Regions from separate parts of the Homo sapiens genome. Here regions 1, 2, 3, 5, 6 and 7 are each linked to region 4. Evidence: promoter capture Hi-C in human tissues and cell types (Jung and others, 2019). All regions are on one chromosome and are shown on one strand. Each heading gives the region's core, a stretch centred on a gene start or on the middle of the fragment in contact. The rest is flanking DNA. Distances are from core to core; before and after follow the strand shown. Region 1 overlaps TOX (thymocyte selection associated high mobility group box). Region 2 has its middle 410 kb from the start of TOX-DT. Region 3 overlaps LOC105375859 (a long non-coding RNA gene). Region 4 holds the start of TOX (thymocyte selection associated high mobility group box). Region 5 has its middle 73 kb from the start of NSMAF. Region 6 has its middle 94 kb from the start of NSMAF. Region 7 has its middle 54 kb from the start of NSMAF.

Evidence for each region. Contacts are between HindIII fragments. The study calls those that stand out against the background at their distance.
Region 1: a fragment that was not itself captured here is called in contact with the fragment with the promoter of TOX in region 4 in 1 of the 25 tissues and cell types used here (dorsolateral prefrontal cortex).
Region 2: a fragment that was not itself captured here is called in contact with the fragment with the promoter of TOX in region 4 in 1 of the 25 tissues and cell types used here (mesendoderm cells).
Region 3: a fragment that was not itself captured here is called in contact with the fragment with the promoter of TOX in region 4 in 2 of the 25 tissues and cell types used here (H1 embryonic stem cells and heart right ventricle).
Region 5: a contact is called between a fragment that was not itself captured here and the fragment with the promoter of TOX in region 4, in 3 of the 25 tissues and cell types used here (lymphoblastoid cells, mesenchymal stem cells and thymus).
Region 6: a fragment that was not itself captured here is called in contact with the fragment with the promoter of TOX in region 4 in 2 of the 25 tissues and cell types used here (IMR-90 fibroblasts and lymphoblastoid cells).
Region 7: a contact is called between a fragment that was not itself captured here and the fragment with the promoter of TOX in region 4, in 1 of the 25 tissues and cell types used here (stomach).

Annotation. Positions count from the first base shown.
Region 1 is chr8:58,826,414-58,829,113 of GRCh38, reverse strand. TOX (thymocyte selection associated high mobility group box) reads left to right here. Exons shown (of 9, transcript NM_014729.3): 6 at 2,212-2,292. Among named protein-coding and RNA genes, the nearest start is that of NSMAF, 170 kb to the right of the region's middle. The HindIII fragment of the contact is 6,763 bases long and covers 1-2,700 here.
Region 2 is chr8:59,531,282-59,534,215 of GRCh38, reverse strand. No RefSeq gene overlaps it. Among named protein-coding and RNA genes, the nearest start is that of TOX-DT, 410 kb to the right of the region's middle. The HindIII fragment of the contact is 3,363 bases long and covers 1-2,934 here.
Region 3 is chr8:59,613,927-59,616,743 of GRCh38, reverse strand. The region is part of intron 2 of LOC105375859 (a long non-coding RNA gene); the gene reads right to left. Among named protein-coding and RNA genes, the nearest start is that of TOX-DT, 500 kb to the right of the region's middle. The HindIII fragment of the contact is 4,702 bases long and covers 1-2,817 here.
Region 4 is chr8:59,117,453-59,120,411 of GRCh38, reverse strand. It overlaps TOX (thymocyte selection associated high mobility group box), which reads left to right and starts at 1,265. Exons shown (of 9, transcript NM_014729.3): 1 at 1,265-1,526. The coding sequence starts at 1,425. It overlaps TOX-DT (TOX divergent transcript), which reads right to left and starts at 1,202. Exons shown (of 3, transcript NR_149031.1): 1 at 1,127-1,202; 2 at 341-455; 3 at 1-76. RefSeq lists a silencer at 521-740. The HindIII fragment of the contact is 9,409 bases long and covers 1-2,871 here.
Region 5 is chr8:58,731,118-58,733,817 of GRCh38, reverse strand. No RefSeq gene overlaps it. Among named protein-coding and RNA genes, the nearest start is that of NSMAF, 73 kb to the right of the region's middle. The HindIII fragment of the contact is 5,232 bases long and covers 1-2,700 here.
Region 6 is chr8:58,752,518-58,755,422 of GRCh38, reverse strand. No RefSeq gene overlaps it. Among named protein-coding and RNA genes, the nearest start is that of NSMAF, 94 kb to the right of the region's middle. The HindIII fragment of the contact is 8,904 bases long and covers 1-2,905 here.
Region 7 is chr8:58,712,063-58,714,762 of GRCh38, reverse strand. No RefSeq gene overlaps it. Among named protein-coding and RNA genes, the nearest start is that of NSMAF, 54 kb to the right of the region's middle. The HindIII fragment of the contact is 8,977 bases long and covers 1-2,700 here.

The sequences.
Region 1 (2,700 bases), core at 173-2,672, 290 kb after region 4:
TAGTCAGACCATCTGGCAATACTGTCTTATCTGCCACAACTTAGAAAATGCCACTGTGGGCAATGCTATGAACCAAAGTGCATTCTATTTGCCTTTGAAAGCAAAACGCATCCTAGTTAGCTGAATGGGAGTCACTTGGAGTAGCATATTAATAAAAGCATGATAGAAATGCTTAGGGTATACAAAAATGCATTACCATAAAAGACGTATTGACTAAATGTTTGCTTCAAAGTCCTGAATAGGATTTCTATCTGTATGGGAGAAAAACCCTCTTGAAAGTTTTGAGGTATTAAAAGCAAATGTAAACATTGTCAGTTTAAGGTCATTAATTATAAATTATGTCTTTGAGAAGAGCTTTAAGGAAAAACTATAAACAGAAATCTGTCTCTCAAAAAAAAATAAATCAATGAAAAGCAGGAGAGCTGTTTCATGGCTGCACCAAGGCTTACGATATACACAGATCACACTGTTCAAAGGCACTTACTCGACTTTAGCATTTATTTGTTTTCACGTGTGAATTTCCAAAAAAGAATTTGAATTTGACTTCCAATAATTAACTCAGTAAATTTAGAATACTCCTGTGCTTGAACCAAAGGATTTCTTGGCTTTGTGCTTAAAAAAAAAAAACTCTGAAATATAGTTTTTAAAGTTTCTTTAGTTTCATACTTAGGATGATGGCACATTGATTATATGATAATATTGTACTAATTCTTAATTCCTTATTTTACTTGGCTTTTATTAGACCAAAATGCCAAATACAGAAGTCAAGGCTGAAGCCCCCCACTTTAGGAGAAAAATTAGCACATTCATTTCATACAGTCCTGTTATAATTCTGTTGACAAGGTTAGTCATTTGTTTACCTTAAGCAAAATGTTCTGCTTTAATTAAAATATTCATGAATAAACAATATTTCTCACATCTCGAATTTCATAGCTGGCGTTGGGCTCAGCAAACCACAGTCAGCATTTGAAACCATAAATTGACCCCTGCTGCCAAATGGCAGATATTTGGTCTTTAGACATAATTTATATTTAACTACTCTGACTAATTCTGAAGCCACTTTTCAATACTGATCTGTGTGTCTGTTTTTGAGTTCAGCATTACAAAATATTAGCCAAGCCTTATGCCCTGCTGTAAAATCCAAAATGTGGGAAATTTAAAATAGCTGTATCAATGAAAATACATTTCCATTTACACAGTGAAGGATGAAAAATATTTTGATCTTTCAGGCTGATTTCAAAAGATTGCCAAAAAATATACTCTAAAGCCTTGAAAGAATCAACTTAATGGTAGCAGAGAGCCATGTGTGTTCACTTTGCTAATCTTTCATTTTCAACTCTAATGACTGCTCACTGTTTAACTTAGCAATGTGACCTTTAGCATACAAGCAAGTCATTTTTCAGTACTTTTGCTCAATTTAGGATGATTTTGCTTTTATTTTCAAGATGATTCCCTCTCAGAAATGGAAAGCTTCTGTAAACTGAAATTCATTTCAGAACACTTTTACCTTTTCAAAATGAGGTGTCCACAGACCCATGACATCCAGTGTTTTTCTTGGAAAGGACGTGACCAGAGTGGACTGCAGGGCAGGGCATGCATGCAATCCACAGCCACTTGGGCTTCCCATTCCTCTCCCAAACGTGTCCTTAATCACCATCACTGTTTCCTGAGTCTTTGAAAATAGAACTTCAAGGCTCCAAATCTTAACTCAGTGATGAACCTGCACTCTCCCTTCTGTTTCCTTTGATTTGCTTATTGAACATGATTTGTCATCTCTAAATTCTGTCTTTGTTTTTGTATTTAGCGTGGAACATATATATCAGGATGTGAATGTGCTGTGGAGTTATCTGCCCATTATATAAATATGAATGCCTTGTTTACTCACATGTGGTTTCCCTGGGAACCTTCATCAATAGTATCTTTGTAAGCCAACTACCTCTACACTCATATCTACCCAGATAAAACCTTTCATATGTTTTATGTAAAAGTGTAAAGTTTTACTGTTGCTAACTTTTTTTTTCTTTTCTAGTCTATTGCCATACTTCTTAAAAATCTGTTTCAGTAAGAAAACACAATCTTTGGGGAGATATATATTATTATATTATATAACTATAAGTGTGTTTGTGTGTGCAGTTATCATTCTATATTGTACTTCTCTGAAAACAAAAGCAAATGCACTTTCTAATTTAAGACTCTTTGCTGTTGTTGCAGGTCTATAAAAAGAAAACCGAGGCTGCGAAGAAGGAGTACCTGAAGCAACTCGCAGCATACAGAGCCAGCCTTGTATCCAAGGTAACGTGCAGTTGTGTGATATTGTGAAGGATTGTGGCCATCTCGGCGCAGACTTTGATAGTCACTTAAAGGCATAAAAGATCACTTTAACGATTCTGCACAATCTTCTTTGTTGGAAAAAAAAGTAAATTACAAACAAAGCTATACGATATGGAAATATTCGTTCAGCTCCAAAAGACCAGAGCAGCATCCCCTGGGCCATTTCTAAAATATTGTCCACCTGTGGATGATTGGTTTTGTGGATTAGTCACAGTACATTCTTCAACCTGAGCCAACTTTCTACTTCTCCATATCCCTTTCTTAAATTGCCTCCAGGCCCCCATGCCATTGGCCTTTACTGAGGACATGCCAACTCTAAGTTCTAGACTCATTACAGCAGCATTAGGAGGTAAGCAGGACCCAAAAATG
Region 2 (2,934 bases), core at 406-2,905, 410 kb before region 4:
TTTTCCTAGCCAAACATTTATAACATTTATTTCAATATTTCAAGATCTATATGCAGACCATCTATCACAGTTGGGTTTTGTGGGGGAGGAGGCAGAGATCAAAATATTCTAACAAATGAAAAATCTTAAAAGGTAACAATACAATATATATGAAACAAGAGTGGATAGAGTTCTGTGACACTTAAGTCAGAAGTCTGAGTAAATTTCGATAGTGTTTGCAAACTATAAAAGTTTTTGTCTTCTGAAAAGATCAGTTAAATTACTTTAACAATGAGATTGTAAATTGGGTTATAAAAAATATCTCATCATTAATGACTACTTAGTTTTATGAAGAAATATCATGTTTATTCTGCACAAATGAAATGAAAGTTCAAGATAACTTTAGTGCTGAGACTGATACAAGACTTCACAATCATTCCTAGCTGTCATTTTAAAATTATTATAGAATACATTAACGTTGTTATTAAAAGTATCTCATTGTTCTTATGTTCTTGCCTTATAATAAGTATATGTTACAAAGCTTAAAATATTTCATACTACTAAAATATTGCTTTTTTATTCATTTTGTATGTAGGGTTTTATTTTTTTTTTAACGAATTGCCTATTAAAAAATGCTTGAAAACTATAGCTACAGACAAATGACTTCGAGTAGGAAAATCACACTAACAGAACGGTAGTTTAGAAAATATAATGCTGGTGGCAGTGAAGCAAATGCCTGGAAGAGGAGGGAAAAATATAAAATATAATACAAGTCATGTAATGTCCTATTATTTTGGTTATTAGACCTATAGGAGGTGAGAATATGCCACCCCAAAATATGCTTCTTTGATATAAGGATTATTTTGAGCTGATAGTTTGGAGAAACTGCAGAAACCAGAGAAGCTCTGAAAACAAGGGTAGAAGTTATCCTTTTGTAAGAGAAATGTATAACTATAAAGGAAATCTTCATTTGTAAGGGAGTCTCTCTCTCAGGACCAGGAAGGGAAGGATGGCTGCAAATCACTGGAGACTTGTCAATAGGGAAGGCACCAATTTCAGTGTTTTTCCTGGTGACCTCTCATTTCTGAGCTTCCCTGGGCCCTTCATTCTTTATTTCCATGGACAGTGGTATTTAAGCCTGAATTCAAAGCTCTCTCATTTCTCTAGGTATTTCTTATGTAAACATGAGATATACATGTTATTAAACTTGTTTGTTTTTCTCTTATTAATCTGTCTTTTGTTAGTGGGGTCCATTTGAATGAAGAACTATGAAAGGTAGAGAGAAAATGATTTTTTCCTTCCCTACAGAACTACAAATTTTTGAGAACTAACTGTGTGCCTGAGATTGCACTAGGTACTTACGTACATTATCCATCTTCTCTCATTCTCACAACCAGCCAACAGGTATTACTGCCTTCATTTTACTGGCCCAGAGTGCTGACGTGACTTGTTGTAAGAGCAGCCGGAATCTGAGCCCTGGGACTAGCCAGTTCCAACATCCATGCTGTCTACTGGGTACAGCATGGAACTGTTTCCCAGCTAGTGCATAACGCTTTACCGTCTGACTTAAAAAAATAGACTGTAATTCTTTCAGGGAAAAAATGTTATTTACTGCATTTGAAGCAACCATAACACGTAATACAAGGAAGCAGTGAGTAATTAACATATATTTGTAGATAGATAAAAGAATAAACAAATATAATCAAATCCTCTGAAATTCCCAAGGTGTTTTGGTTTTTTAGAAGGATACCATGTGATAAACATTAACTGGTTAATGCACATGCTTTCCTAATATATTTTTTTCTCTTTGCTGATTCTGTTTGACATCAGTCAAATTATATTGCAAAATCCACAATAAAGATTTCAGAAGAATTGTCCCTTTCCATTATTCATATAGTGTGCATTACTTTCTTAGTAAACTGGTTTCAAAAACAAGCTTTGGATTTAAATGTTAAAATGTTATCTTAGTTTTTTTTTTTTTTTTTTTTGAAGGTGGTAAAAATGGAAACAGGCACAGCATTTGAATGCAGGAAGCCTTTAAGCCATCTTTCTCTCCTTTGCCCTTGCCTCCCCCTCTCTTCCTGTGAAACATCAGAATAAACGTCCCTTGTTTGAACTAAATCACCCACTGTGCGTAACTGATATCATAAGCACAGACACATATACCTCATAACCAGAGCTCTCACACCTTATCAGAACATTCTCATCTGAAAGGTGAGGATGTTGGAAACCAGGCTTTTTTAATGTGGTGATATCAATTAGGAGCAAGGAGAAAAAATTGCACGGGGCTAGAGGGGAGTGGTTGCTCAGGTTTGTTTAGGCTTCACTTAGCTTTAGTCTATTAAGGTCTAATTCCTTATGTGTTTTACCTGATGGTGAGCAAAGTGGCTTTACATTGTATTTCTTTGTAACACTGACATTTCCTTCGCACCATTTAAAATTAAACCTTTTATTAGTCCATGGATGGCTGAGGCAGGAAACAATAGCAGCTCAGGGAGAATAATTATTTCTGTTTCATTGTGTAGGATGTTTGAGCTCTTGATTAGTTGCATTCTACAGTACTTAACAGCTAACCAATCTTACCATGATTAACAACACGAGAAGTTTGTTGTTGTTGTTGTTGTTGTTTTATACTAGAAATGCTGTTTTATATGTTTCTTGGTGACTTAAATCTTGTTTTAAAAAATACCTCTCATTTTCTGGGGTGTGTTTGAAAACGACCACACCATCAATGGCATGCAGTAGTGAGCAGTGGGCAAGGCAAGAGAGGATCACTATAAAATGGATGTAAAAAGCTGTGGGTTGTCCGGCATTAAGCATTCCCAGTGTGTTTCTAATGAGCTTATGATGGCCTCGCCGGATTACTGTTTCTACTCCAGCCCAGTAAATTACAGTATGCCCAAATTAAATCAATGGGACTCCATAGAAGCCGATCTTCAGCAGGCTCCACATTTG
Region 3 (2,817 bases), core at 27-2,526, 500 kb before region 4:
CTACAAGTATTGAAACTATTTATGGAAACCTGAAGTGTGAGAGCAGAAAACTTCACAGTTCCTTCCCTCTCCCCTGAGAATAGTGAAGTTATTTTTAGCACTTCGTCTAGAGTTGTGGACCTAGGGTCAACGCAGAGGAAGACCTTCTATTGTTTTTTCACACTTCTGTCCTCTGATTTCTCCCTCTGCTGCTCAATTGTGTTTTCTCTATTTAGTCTTCATACATTGCTATTTTCTTTTCTTCCTCCCGCACTTTTAAAGCATGTATCTGAATTTGATACAGAAGTGAGGAACATGTGTACTTCTGAAGAGTTTTTTGCCAGGCTGTAGGACACACTGATACTCCATTGAGAGCACTGGCCTAGAAAAAATGTAATCTTTCAATAAATTCTCCGTATACAAACAGTGAAAGCATTCACCAGTGTTGTTTGGAGCTGCAATGCAGTGGGGCTGGGTGTGATGTGGCTTTGGGGTGACTATGGGCTAGTTACTGACTTATCTATGCCTTGCTTTTCTCATCTTTAAAACAAGGATATAGATAGAATTACCTACCTCATCAGGTTATTTCATGTATTAAATACATAAAATGTACTAAAACAATGTCTGGAACACGGTAATTACACAGTAAACGTAGCTGTTGTTTGTATAATGCTACATTTATGAAGCTCTATTCCACAGGAACAGCTGTGACCAAAATTAGAGCAAGGTCTACTATGGTTCTCCTGCCCCAGTCACTTGGCAAGGGCTTCCTCATCCTGGAAGAAGCCCTTCCTCCTGACTGGGGCAGAAGGAGAACCATAGTAACCAGTGTCGTTCACATTGTAAGATGGACTGGAGGGTCAATCTGGGCACGTATTCAGTAGAAGCGTATGGTGTCATTCAAAGAAGCTGAGGGTTGAAAAACTGTGGCCTGTAAAACTGACTCCTACCTTGAAGATTAGGTGGGAGATCTCACTGCATCTTGTTAAGAAATTAAGTAATTAAGAAAATCATTCTTGAAAGCATTTGTTTGTATTAGTGCATTTTTCCCTTAGGTTAAATTTGTACAAAGGGGCTATAGGAGAGATGGAATTCAAACTCATATTTTAAGACTTAGGTTCATATTAAATTTTTTTCCACCAAAAAAAATTGCCAGTTCTTGCTCCTATCAACAGTGTACATGAATGCCTATTTTCTTAGCACCTTGACCACACCAGGCTTCTTGTATTTTCAAACATTTTCTATTTGATAAATAAAAATGTAACTATTAACTTTGTTTGTTTTGAATCACCAGTCAGGTTGAACATCTGTACATTGTCTACTGAATATTTGCATTTCTTTGTAAATTGTCTGTTCATAGCATTTGTTAATTTTATAATTATCTACTCTTTTTTTCTTTCCTGAAAACTATTCTTATTTGGTTGGAAAAGCATTGTATGTTTTCTTCTGATTTTATGGTTTCCTATTTTTTAAATTTATATATTTCATATTTTATTTTTGTGTTATATTTCCCAATTATTTTAAAGATAAGCATAAAAAAGTGTGATCCTCTGCCTTTAATGGAAATACATCTAGATTTAATTCTATATAGATTATTGATATAAAATATACTATTTAATATAGTAAGGAAGTATAATCTAATAAGATAGTTTACTAAAGTAAACTATTAAAATGATTAATTATATTTGTAGATTTCTTTTTTCCCCTTTTTTTGTAGATGTCTTAATATAATGTATCCCTGCACTCATCATAAACTCTACTTAGTCATAACTCATTATTACATGTTCTTTAACATGGTGATGGATTCAATTTTCTATTTCATTTTTGTGAATATTTTCATAAGTGTAATTGGCCTGCAATGATCTAACATCGTACTGAAAGTTCTAATAAATAAGAAATAGGAATTATAAATATTTATGTTTGTTTGGTTTTACATATCTATCTCTGGACATACACACACTAGAAACCATCAGAAAGCTGAAAAAGCAATTTCAGTTCAGCATCTTTTAAAAATAATCCTATGACAAGACTTTTCTTTTAAAGTAGCAACATAGTAATGTTCCATTAAACTTTTTCTCAATCTTAGTTGGTTTTTTAGAATTAAAGTAATGCATTTTAATATGAAATCATCCATTTCATTAATACTTTCTTATTTATTAGGATAGAGTTTTATATATTTATCTTATAATTATCTACTAATTCATATTTTTCTACATCTGTGTTTGTTTTCTGTTACTTATATAACACATTTACCTTATCTGTTTAGTTTTCGTAGTTTTCAAACAATGTGCTTTGCTTTAGGATTTATTAATCAGTTAGTCTCTTATATTCTAAATCATTAATTTTTTACCACTTATACTAATTGCTTTCTTTTTTAATATTTCAATTTATTTTATTAATTCCTTTCTAATATACAAACTGACTCAGTATTTTTTTCTTCGTTATCTAAATACTAAAAAGCTTAATATTAAGATTTTTAAGGGTACTTTCCTACTAGTACATACGTTTCTCTTAGGATTTTAATATGGACTCTTCCCACTACTGTTACTTTCTGATAGTCTTTACATCCAAGTGGTTAGAACATTTTTAATTTTTTGTTATTAACTTTATATATAATTTATTTCCTCATTGAATATTTCCTGTAATTTTTCCTTTGGAGAATTTCTCCTTTGTTGGGAATCTATTTTATTTTTATTTTTAAATTGCCAACTTTACTGAAACCAAGAACATGTTAGTATACACACACATATACATACATGTACGTGTGTTTGTATATATATCAACATATGTACACATATACATCCTTTATATATAATCTCATAATTATATTATTCAGAT
Region 4 (2,959 bases), core at 16-2,515:
CACTCACCGACCGGAGAAATGGGGAGGCGGACTCCAGGTCTTTCGTGGACTGCCAAGAGCCCTATAGGGCGTCCAGCTATAAAAAGAGAAGAATCCCATGAAGGACAACAAGCAAACTCATATGTTATCCCTTTAGCCGGATTGTGTGCTGATGATTGTTTCCCTATTTACACTTCGAATCACCCCTGTGGTCTTTTGTGAGTCCCCAAGGCAGCCTCAGCCTTCGCAAACCGTCCAGTGGGGCACGAATCTCGGAGGGGTGCGGGCTGCAGGCGGCAGAGGGAAGCCAAAGAGGGGCGGCTTTTCCAGGCCGTCCACCCCCAGGCGAGCTGGTCCTCACCCTTCGATCGGCTCGAGTCCCTCGGACAGTTGCCCACTCACAGCGTGCAAAGGGGTCGCACTCCCTGTGGGTTCTCCGCCCTCAGAAGCGGCGCTGCGCAGGAAAGTCACCTCCACTACGGGCCGGGAGTAGGGAGGGGAGCACAGTGACAGGGTTGGGGAACAGCCGAGGAGGAGTGGGGGTCGCGGAGATAGGGGTGGGGACGGCCGCGGAGAGGGCGGTGGGAGTGGGGTGGGGCCGGGGAGGGCCGGGGGCGGGGCTGCGGGGCGGGGTGCGCCACAGCGCCCCCTAGCTGCGCGCTCCCCACGGTGCCCTGAGGCCGCTGGTGGCTCTGGCTCGGCAGCCCCTTTGTGTGCGACGCGCTGGTCCCGAGGAGCGCGGCACGGGCACAGCGGAGGCCTCCCAGGGTCCCACCGCTTCTGTCCCAGCCAGGCCGTGCTCTCCTCCTTCTCCTTCTCCGCTCCTCCTTTCTCCGGTCCCCGGCCTCTGGTTCCGAACAGCAGCCATTGGGCCTTGACGAGCCCGCGTCCGGCCGCGCTCCCTACCCCGCCCGGCCCGGGACGCTCGCCCCCCTCCCGCCCTGTCCCTTCTGGATCCCCGCCCCACCCCCCCACCCCCCACATCCCGGGCCTCCAAGGTGGAGAAAATAAACTACAAGCAGAACAACTCAGAATCTCCAATAAAACGCCCAGTACCTAGAGCCCGAGCGCGTGTGCCGGGCTGCGAGGGGCGCGGGAGGCGGGGATGGGGGGGCGGGCGGGGGGGACAATGAGCGCATGAAGTTACCTGCCCGGCGGCGGCGGCAGCGGCGGCGGCGGGACCAAGAGGCGGCGGTGGAGCAGGCTGCGCGCTCGGCGCCGACGGGTGCGCGCCGCGGCTTGGGGGAGAGTTGAGCGCTTTTCCCCCCTCTTTTTTTTTTTTTTCCTCTTCTTCTTAAACAAACCACAAACGGATGTGAGGGAAGGAAGGTGTTTCTTTTACTCCTGAGCCCAGACACCTCACTCTGTTCCGTCTAAGCTTGTTTTGCTGAACACTTTTTTTTAAAAAAGGAAAAAGAAAAGGAGTTGCTTGATGTGAGAGTGAAATGGACGTAAGATTTTATCCACCTCCAGCCCAGCCCGCCGCTGCGCCCGACGCTCCCTGTCTGGGACCTTCTCCCTGCCTGGACCCCTACTATTGCAACAAGGTGAACGCTCTGCTTTTGTTTCCACCGTGTTCTTGCTGCTTGATCCTGGGAGGGGAGCGGCGGTGGCCGGGCCGCGGCGGGGCCGGCTTGGCGGAGGCCGGTCCCGGGCGCGCTCGGCTCGCAGCCCGCTGCAGCCTGCGTGCGCTTGGGTAGTAAATATTGTGGAGTAGCTCCGGGGGCTTGCCAAACACCGCGATTGTGCGGAAAGTGACACGATTTGCTCGGATTCTTTCCTTCCTGCTGTTCGCGGCTAAGGATCCCTGCCTAGGTTTGCCGGGGGGCGTTTAAAAAAATAATAAGAGAAAACCGTGGAATACTTTGGGGGTGTGTCTGGGGTCCAGGAACGGAGGCAGAGTAAGAGAATTCAGTTTATTTCCCAGTTCCCCCTTCTCTCTCCCTCCCTCCCCGGGCAGTGGGGGCTCGTGGCACCACTTCCCTTCTCCGGATTAGTTGCCAGGGGAGCAGCCGGGAGTCGGGGTGCAGGGACCTGGGAGGCGCCCCTGCCCCCCACAGGGAAAACTGCCCCACAACTCTTTTGTTTTCTCAAACCGGTTCCGGCAGCCGAGCCCGGGTTCGGACACAGGTCCGCGGGCCAGAGCACAGCGGGGTAGCTGGGTCAAGGTTTGGGGAACAGTTCCTGTTTAAGGGGTGCGCGCGGAAATTGCAAGTTTGTTGGGAGCCGGGCGAGCACGTCGCGTTCAAGTCCAAAGCTCCCGCACTCGCGGAGCAGGGTCCGCGGCTGAGCTGTACCCACGGCCCGCTGACCTCGGGTGCCAGGGCCGCGGGGGCCCGGGGAGAGGCGGATCATGCCGGTGACCCGGAGGTGGGGCGCTGGCCTGGGCTGCTGCGGAGTTCGGCTGGGTCCACCTATAGGACAGTCAGGGGGTACGAGGGAGGGGGTTACTCTCCCGGCTTCTCGAACTCTCTCATCCCAGAGAGGGAGGACACGCAGGGACCGGTCCCCCAGAGTGGTCGCAGGGGCACGACTGCCCACGCCTAGGGCTAGTTGGACGTGTCTAAGCAGTCCCGTTGGATGAACGTTGGCAGAGAGAATTGAGTTCTCTAAAACGCTGGGCGGGCCTTTTAGACGCCCAACTCTCGCTTGGTGATAAATCTGCCTGATACTCACAGCCCCTGCAGGCACATCCATGGCGACCCTCGGTGCATTCCACGGGAAAAATCGTTGGGACTCCCAACATTTGCCTGGTGGCGAGTCATCACCAAACGGCTTTTTTACCTGATACAGAGATATTTAGTGCGCTGCCTTCTCAGCCCTGGACTCCGCACCACGCGACCGAGTCGCAGCTCCGAGTCTTGGACAGTGTTGACACACAGGCAGGCTCTCACACACACACTTCCCCGTGGAGAAGCTCCTCGATGCTGTGTCCAGTGTGAGACCCACTCAAAGGACTGTGCTGTGTGCCGATGGTGTT
Region 5 (2,700 bases), core at 152-2,651, 390 kb after region 4:
CTGGGTTCAATTGATCCTCCCACCACAGCCTCCTTAGTAGCTGGGACTACAGATGCATGTCACCATGTCTAGATAATTTTTTAAAAAATTTTTATAGAGATGGGGTATTGTCATGTTGCTCAGGCTGGTCTCAAACTCCTGGTTTCAAGCAATCCTCCCGCCTCTGCCTCCCAAAGTGCTAGGATTACAAGTGGGAGCTACCACGCCTGGCCACATGTCTTTTCTTGTAATGGTACCAATCTCCTCATGGGGATTCCAGCTTCATGACCTTATTACCTCTCAAATGCCCCATCTTCAAATATCATCACATTGGGAATTAGGGTTTCAACATATGAATTTTGAAGGGACACAAACATTTAGTCCATAGCAAGCCTCTTAATAGAGTCTGAAAAATGTTTTAATTTTTAGCACTTTAGAAGGAAGTTGGGGTTTTGATGGATATCCGTACAGATTCTGCCACTTATGCCTGTAAAATCCCTGTAATATCATGGACACTCAAGAATATTTCTTGGACTCAATTTAACATAATTAAAAACATAAATGTGATCAGGCGACAGATAGTGATTGGATATCTACTATGTGCAATCAACATCCTACCCATGTGAGAAACGCTTGTCCTATCTCAAACCTTCCATATTGCTCTGTGTTTCTAAGCTTTTGCACAAGCTCTTCCCTGGAGTGGCCTGCTCCCATTCTTCCACCCATCAACTCCCAAAGGTGAATATCTTTGGCCCTTTAAAGCACGAACTAATCTTCACTACTTTGGGAAACCTTCTGTATCCGTTAGAATCTTTTAAGTCCATGTAACAGAATAATGGAAAGTGGCTTAAACAAGAAAGGTGTGTTATCTTATATAACAATAAACAGCAAAACATACAGAGACAGAAAAGAAGGGCCCAGGTTTGTACTTCAGGAATGCTATGATATCAACAAGGACCCAACAGCTTGCCCTATTTCTGCTCTCCCATCCTCACTCTGTTAGGGTTCATCCTCAGGCATGTCCTTTCATGATCACAGCGTGGATACTATACATGTTTTCACACAACTGTAGTCAAAGCCAGGAAAGGAGGTGTCTCCTTGCTTGTCTCCTTCTATCCAGAGACAAACCTTTACTGAGTTCTGTCTAAAGAATGACTTTTAAGTCTCATTTCCCAGGACAGTGTTACAGGCCCACACCTAAACCAATCAGTGACCAGGAGAAGGGAAGCACTTCGATTGGCTTAGACTTGTGAACATTCATTTTCTGGCCCTGGAAGAGAAGAGTGAATACCAACACTGAATCAAGGTGGCTCTTCCAGCAAGAAAGAAGGAGAGAGGAGTAGGTAACCCCTGGCATCAGCTACACCCCCTCAATCACAACCATCACATCCTCCTGAGCTGTGGGAGGTGGCCCACCTCAGTGCTCTCATAGCAACCCATAATTAGGGTAATTGCAGCACTTAGCATATTGTCAACTCACGTCTCAGCTCTGCCTCTCTGTGAGCTCCTCTAGGGCAGAGGCTGTTTCTTATTCATCTACCTCTCTAGGCTTAACTCAGTGTTCACCACATTGAATGCACCCAGCAAATATTGGTTGAACTCGAATAAGTTGAATTACATGGATCATGATTCTATCCATGCAAATAGGTATTAGCTATTTAGAAGAGTTATTATTGTACTATCTAACTAGATCACATTTAGAAATGTTATGTGAAAATATTTTTGGACAATTAAATGTGGTTATTTCAAAGTGCCAGGGAAGAAACTGGTAGGGTGGACAGGCACGAGCAAACTTACAACGGTCTTGCTATCCTGATCCTGTTAAGTAGCTCATCTTTGTAGTTAACTATTTCATTTTCACTCCTTTCATTTATATTGTCTCTTCTTAAATGCAAACGTAAGTGAGGTAACTTGACTGAATGAAAACAATTTTGAATTAAGTTCAGAAACATGTAAACAGTCACACTAAGTTTGTGTTCCATTATGTGGGGCAACATGAAAGGTAGAACAGGGCTGGGCATGGTGGCGCATGCCTGTAATTCCAACACTTTGGGAGGCAGAGGCGGATGGATCACAAGGTCAGGAGTTTGAGACCAGTCTGACCAACATGGTGAAACCCTGTCTGTACTAAAAATACAAAAAGTAGTCAGGCATGGTGGCATGTGCCTGCAATCCCAGCTACTCAGGAGGCTGAGGCAGAAGAATCACTTGAACCCAGGAGGCAGAGGTTGCAGTGAGCCAAGATCATGCCATTGCACTCCAGCCTGGGTGACAGAGAAAAAGTCCATCTCAAAAAAAAGAGAAGAAAAAAAAGGTAGAACAAACATTTTATTGACATTTATTCAACACATTTTAGACTTACACTTACTGCTAAAATAGAGAAACCAGGACTGGCCTTATCCTCCACCTGAAACAGCCAAAGACAACAACAAAATGATATAATGACTCACAAGACACTAGGTGGACAACAAAGGCCACAGGTATTCAGATGGGTACAGATTGGGGCACACAAATAAGAAAACCACCAGAGGCTGGAGGAAAAAACACACAAAACATTAGAGGTAATGGTGCCCAGGGTTTCCACCAGCCAGAATGGAAAGCCTCATGATTCAAGGAACATCGGGTAGAGTACCCAGAAGAGTCTTGCCTCGGCATTAGGGAAAAATGTCCCTAAGCTTAGTATAGCTCCAGTCTTGCTCAATAACATTGAGATCAAGACCT
Region 6 (2,905 bases), core at 330-2,829, 370 kb after region 4:
GGGAGGCTGAGGCAGGAGAATCGCTTTGAACCAGGAGGCAGAGGTTACAGTGAGCCGAGATTGCCCCAGCCTGGGTGACAGAGCAAGACCTTGTTACAAAAAATAAAATAAAATATGCAAAATTCATTTTGGAGGGATGAGTAAAAGTTGAAATAAAGAGTAATAAAACTGAACAGAATCTAAAGATGTTAAAAGTAACATTTAGGAATAAAACCTGTAGATGAGAAAAGAGGCATCGCTCCTTAACACCATTCCTGGTTGTTCTCAAAAGCAAAAAGCTGAATTACTGCATGGAAAATGTCAATGTTGAGGTGTTTAGGGCAACTTGAAGTGATTGGCACAGGATTATCCATGGTTTTTTTGGGAGACTAGTGACTTCCATAACTGTGTGCCAAAAACAGCACTGCAAGATGATAACAAAAAATAAATAGAATCAGACAGTCCTATTAGACACGGCTCTCTTCTGTGTAAGTTCACCTACTGAGTGAATGTCAAAATATACAAGAGCACAAATAAACTTTCCAAGGGCTCTCTAGTGGGTTTTGTACTAAAAGCCAAGTCTTCTTTTTCCATCCAATTCCTTTCAAACAATAGAGTGCCTGGGTAAGATGAAAACCAGAGATTTCTAAGAGATACTTAAAAAACTTAAATGTTAGATATCATAATGATGAGTTACTTATAAAGATGTGAAAGACTAATTTAGATTAATCAATGTCTACATTAAGTTCTACAGAGAAATTACATTTATCCCACCACAAATCAAGAAAGTGACTTGAGACTTAGATGACTTGAGACTAACAGAAAGTACGATGTGTTCCAGAGGGAAGCCTTGAACTTCAATGGTGACCATCACAAGCCCCAAAGATTTGGCCAATCTTTGAAAAGAGTGGCAATGCTGAAATAAAGCACTAACATATTAGGAGGTCTAAGATTTGCATTTATTTTCCACATGCTTTTAGAAACCCAGCTAACTCAAATGATCTCTAACTTCAAAAAGTTGTATGAATAAAATGCTATCAGGGAGGTTTAAACCATTCATGAATATCCAGGTGTCTGAAAAGTGCCTGGAGTTATTGAAAACATTGTAATAATAAAGTAATCTGGATGTCTCCTAGGGTGCAGAGCCGGATTTGTTATTCTCCACACTACCAGATGCAAAGCCAAATGTTCCATGTTCATAAAAAATGCATCTAGAGTTGCCTATATTCATAAACAATATTTGCATGCATGAATTTTCCATTTCTTGTGATATTAGAGCTGGGATAAAGTAGCAAAACTACTCTCCTAGACCATAGTTAAAAGAAGATAAACCTTTACAATTAGAATCTGCCATTTCCCTGAGATAAAGGGGGGTTTCGTTTCTGTTGTGTTTTTGTTTTGTTTTGTTTTGTTTTGTTTGTTTTCTTCATTAAGTTGACACAGTGTGGGAAAAGCAAATGTAAGCCCAAAATCTGAGGTCAGCTCAGCTCCCCAAGGGTTAGCATATTGTGCATAAAAAGATAGACTATTTAGCACTGAATATTTTGTATTATAATCAAATTGTTCCAATCTGTTCTAAAATAGTAGAGAAAGTAACTTAATAAAAGTGAAGTCACAGATTGTCACAAAATAAAAGATTTTAAAACTAGCCTAAAAGCATTCTTATATAAATACCAAAAAGGATGGCCTAGACTTGTCATATAAAATTCAGCTAACTCATGTGCTTTGGCCCCCAGCCAAGGGATATTAGCTACCAGAAGAACCACAGTGGACACGGCCTCGCACCAATGAGTTCTTAAGCCTGAATCCAAAGGCAGTGACGACCCCAGAGTACCGTTAGTTTCAATTTAGAGATGGAGTTTTGTTTACCAAAGGAATCAAGATATTTTATATTGTTTATTAATGGTCACATTTAATATAATACCATTAATAATAATATCTTCATTTATTATGAGTTTTTTACTATGTGCTAAGCAATAAGGCAATATGCTAAGCACCTTTATACAGGGATTGTTTAATTTAATTCTAAAAAAAAGATGTGTGAAGTACTGTTATTATTTCCATCTTACCAATGAAGAAACTGATGCTTAGAAAAGATAAGTAATTAGGAGGTAATGTTTGTTATTTTTTGATCTTTCTATATTTATTTATCTTTTTTGATCATTTTAGATTTCTATTTTACAACTAGAAAAAAAAAAAGAGAGAGAGAGAGACACCAGGATCTAAAGCCCTGGGAGTTTTGTCAAAGCTCCAATTTTCAAAATGCTCCCTAGAGACCAATATATACATTACAAAACAAAAACAAAAACAAAAACAAAAAGCACCTTGTCATGGGTAGAAGTTCCCTTCAGGAAGGACTGCTAGAACATTTCATGTCAATCTGGGTGATCTTTTCATTTTGAAGTCCCAATGATGATCACAATTTACTCTTTCTTTTTGCCACCAATATCTCCAATTTCTCATGTCCAAGACATCCTAAATTCTGTCTCCAAGGTATCAAAATATATTTAGCTATATGTCAAGCCCATGCCAATTTCCAAGAGCTCCAAATTCACAGCACACTGTGCCTGGGCTAGGACTTGGTGCCGGCTTGCAGAGGGCCATGGAAATCAGGCACAGTCAGCCAGAGAGCTGCCTCTGTCCCTCACATCCAGTCCTTAATGTCTTATAGGCTCTATCTTATTACAGAAATCAGAGTAATCAGAGATGTTCTTTCTGTTTGATCTGTTTGTCTGCATGCCACACCTTGAAACAAACTTCACTTAGATCCAGTGGAAAAATCCAGTAGATGAGAAGGTGAAGCTTTGGCTTAAGAAAAAGAAAACCTGGGTTTTCTTTCTGAACCTTTGGGTAAGCTGTGAAATGTTCTGGTATGACAGCAAGAATTCAAGGGGAATATTGAAATTATAAGCCAGTTTTTCAGATA
Region 7 (2,700 bases), core at 73-2,572, 410 kb after region 4:
CCTGGTACTTGGTAGGTGTCTGATAAATGCTGGGTAATATAATATGATTGATTTGCTTCCTGATTTTTGTTTTCTGTATGCCCATTAGCATTTCTGCCTGTTTGAAAAGTTCGCATTCAGTATACTTACAGAGAAATAGCTCAAATAACTTGAAATCCATACAAAATATATTATTTCATTTGTGACACTAACCAATATCCTTACACATAGGATGACTGTCTTAGTCCATTCAGGCCCCTATAAAAAAATACTGTAAACTGGGCAACTTATAAATAGCAAAAGTTTATTTCTCACAGTTCTGGAAGACAGAAAGTCCAAGACCAACGTGCCAGCAGATTCAGTGTCTAGTGAGGGCCAATTTTCTCGTTCATAGGCGGCATATTTTCGCTGTATCTTTACATGGTAGAAGGAGCAAGGCAGCTTTCTGGGGCCTCTTTTATAAAGGCAGTAATCTCATTCATTAGGACTCTGCCCTCATGGCCTAATTACCTCCCAAAGGCCCCACCTTCTAATATCATCACAGTGATGGTTAGGTTTCAGCCTATGAATTTGGGGGAGGACACAAACAGATCAATAATCTTATAAATGGAAGCACTTGAAGTAAAAGGAAGTAATGTTATATGATTTAAAAAAAACACTTTCAGTTTCAGATTCTAAATATGTTCCTGTGATTGGAATAAGTAGTAAAAAAAATTTGATGACATGACTGGTAATTTCAAGAAACCTAGACATATTCCAGTATAATATATCTGTATATGAATGAAATGATGTTTAAGAGATTGCCCTGTTCTGTAATTACCCTGTCCATTTACCAGAGTATACGTTTCCCAGCCTGTTAATCTTGGAAGGCATGCTCAAAGATAAGGATTTTATGACTCTTTTACTGGAATTTTTTTTTTTTTTTTGAGGTGGAGTCTCACTCTGTCACCCAGGCTGGAGCGCAGTGGCATGATCTCGGCTCACTGCAACCTCTGTCTCCTCGGTTCAAAGGATTGTCCTGCCTCAGCCTCCTGAGTAGCTGGGATTATAGGCATGCACCACCATGCCCAAGTAATTTTTGTATTTTTAGTAGAGACGAGGTTTCACCACGTTGCCCAGGCTGGTCCTGAACCCCTGACCTCAGGTGATCCGCCTCCATCGGCCTCCCAAAGTGCTGGGATTATAGGGTTGAGCCACCACACCCAGCCTGGAATTATTTCTTTATGAAAGGGTAAATGCTTGTTTAAAATTTCTTAAAGAATTTTTCAAGATACAGTGCTGCAGCCACATTCTTTGGGATTTTGATTGTGTTATAGGAGGTACAAAATAATTTTTAAATATTTTTCACAGTATTGAGTAGATTAGTTCACTAGAGACAATATAGATATGCAGAAAGAGAAAAATTAAAATATCCAAAATATCACCAACAAAGATAACCTTTGTTTTTGCTGTTCGTTTTTGTTGTACTTTAGGGGGCTTTCTTTTGAGATAGAATCTCACTCTGTCCCATAGGTTGTGTAGTGGCACAACCATAGCTCACTGCAGCCACAACCTCCCAGGTTCGAGCAAGCCTCCCACCTCAGCCTCCTAAGTAGCGTGGACAACAGACATGTGCCACCACGCTTGACTAATGTTCTTTTATTAATTTCAATTTTTTATTTTTAGTAGAAACAGGATCTCACTATGTTCCCCAGGCTGGTCTTGACCTCCTGGGCCCAAGTGATCCCCCCACCACTGTTTCCCAAAGTGCTGGGATTACAGGCATGAGCCACCGCATCTGACCAATAACCACTTTTAACAACTATCCTTACATATATTTTTCTATATACAGGTGGTCCTCAACTTACAATCGTTCCATTTATAATTTTTAAACTTTACAATGGTGTGAAAGAGATATGCATTCACTAGACACTGTACTTTGAGTACCCATACAACCATTCTGTTTTCACTTTGAGCACAGTATTCAAAAAATTTCATGAGATATTCAATACTTTATTATAAAATAGGCTTTGTGTTAGATTATTTTGCCCAACTGTAGGCTAATGTAAGTATTCTGAGCACATTTAAGGTAGGACAGGCTAAGCCATGATATTTGGTAGATTAGGTGTATTAAATACATTTCTGACTTATGATATTTTCAATTTATGATAGGTTTATCAGGACATAACCCCATTATAAGTTGAGGAGCATCTGTATAGAAATATCTTTTTGCAAAAATAGAAACATACATATGGTTTTATAGATCATTTTGCTTAACAAGATATTATAAACATAATCCAGTATAAATAAATATTCATCTACAAAAATTATTTTTACTAACGAAACAGTAATTCATACTGTGTCATAATGGACTACTTCTGATTTCAGCTCCTACGTATCAAAAGCAGGGACGTCATGACTCTCATCCTTTGCTTAACAGCTTTATTGAGATATAGTTCACGTACTTTGTAATTAATCTATTTAAAGTGTACACTTGAATGATTTTTAGTATATTTACAGATATATGCAAGCATCACCACAGTCAATTTTAGAATATTTTTATCACACCAAAAACAAATCCCATACACTTCAGCTATTATCCCCCAGGCGTGTATCCTCCCTCTCCCCACCAGCCCTAGGCAATCATGAATCTGCTTTCTGTCCTATAGATTTCCCTTTTCTAGACATTTCTTATGAATGGAATCACATAATATATGGTCTTTTGTGGAGGGCTTCTTTCAA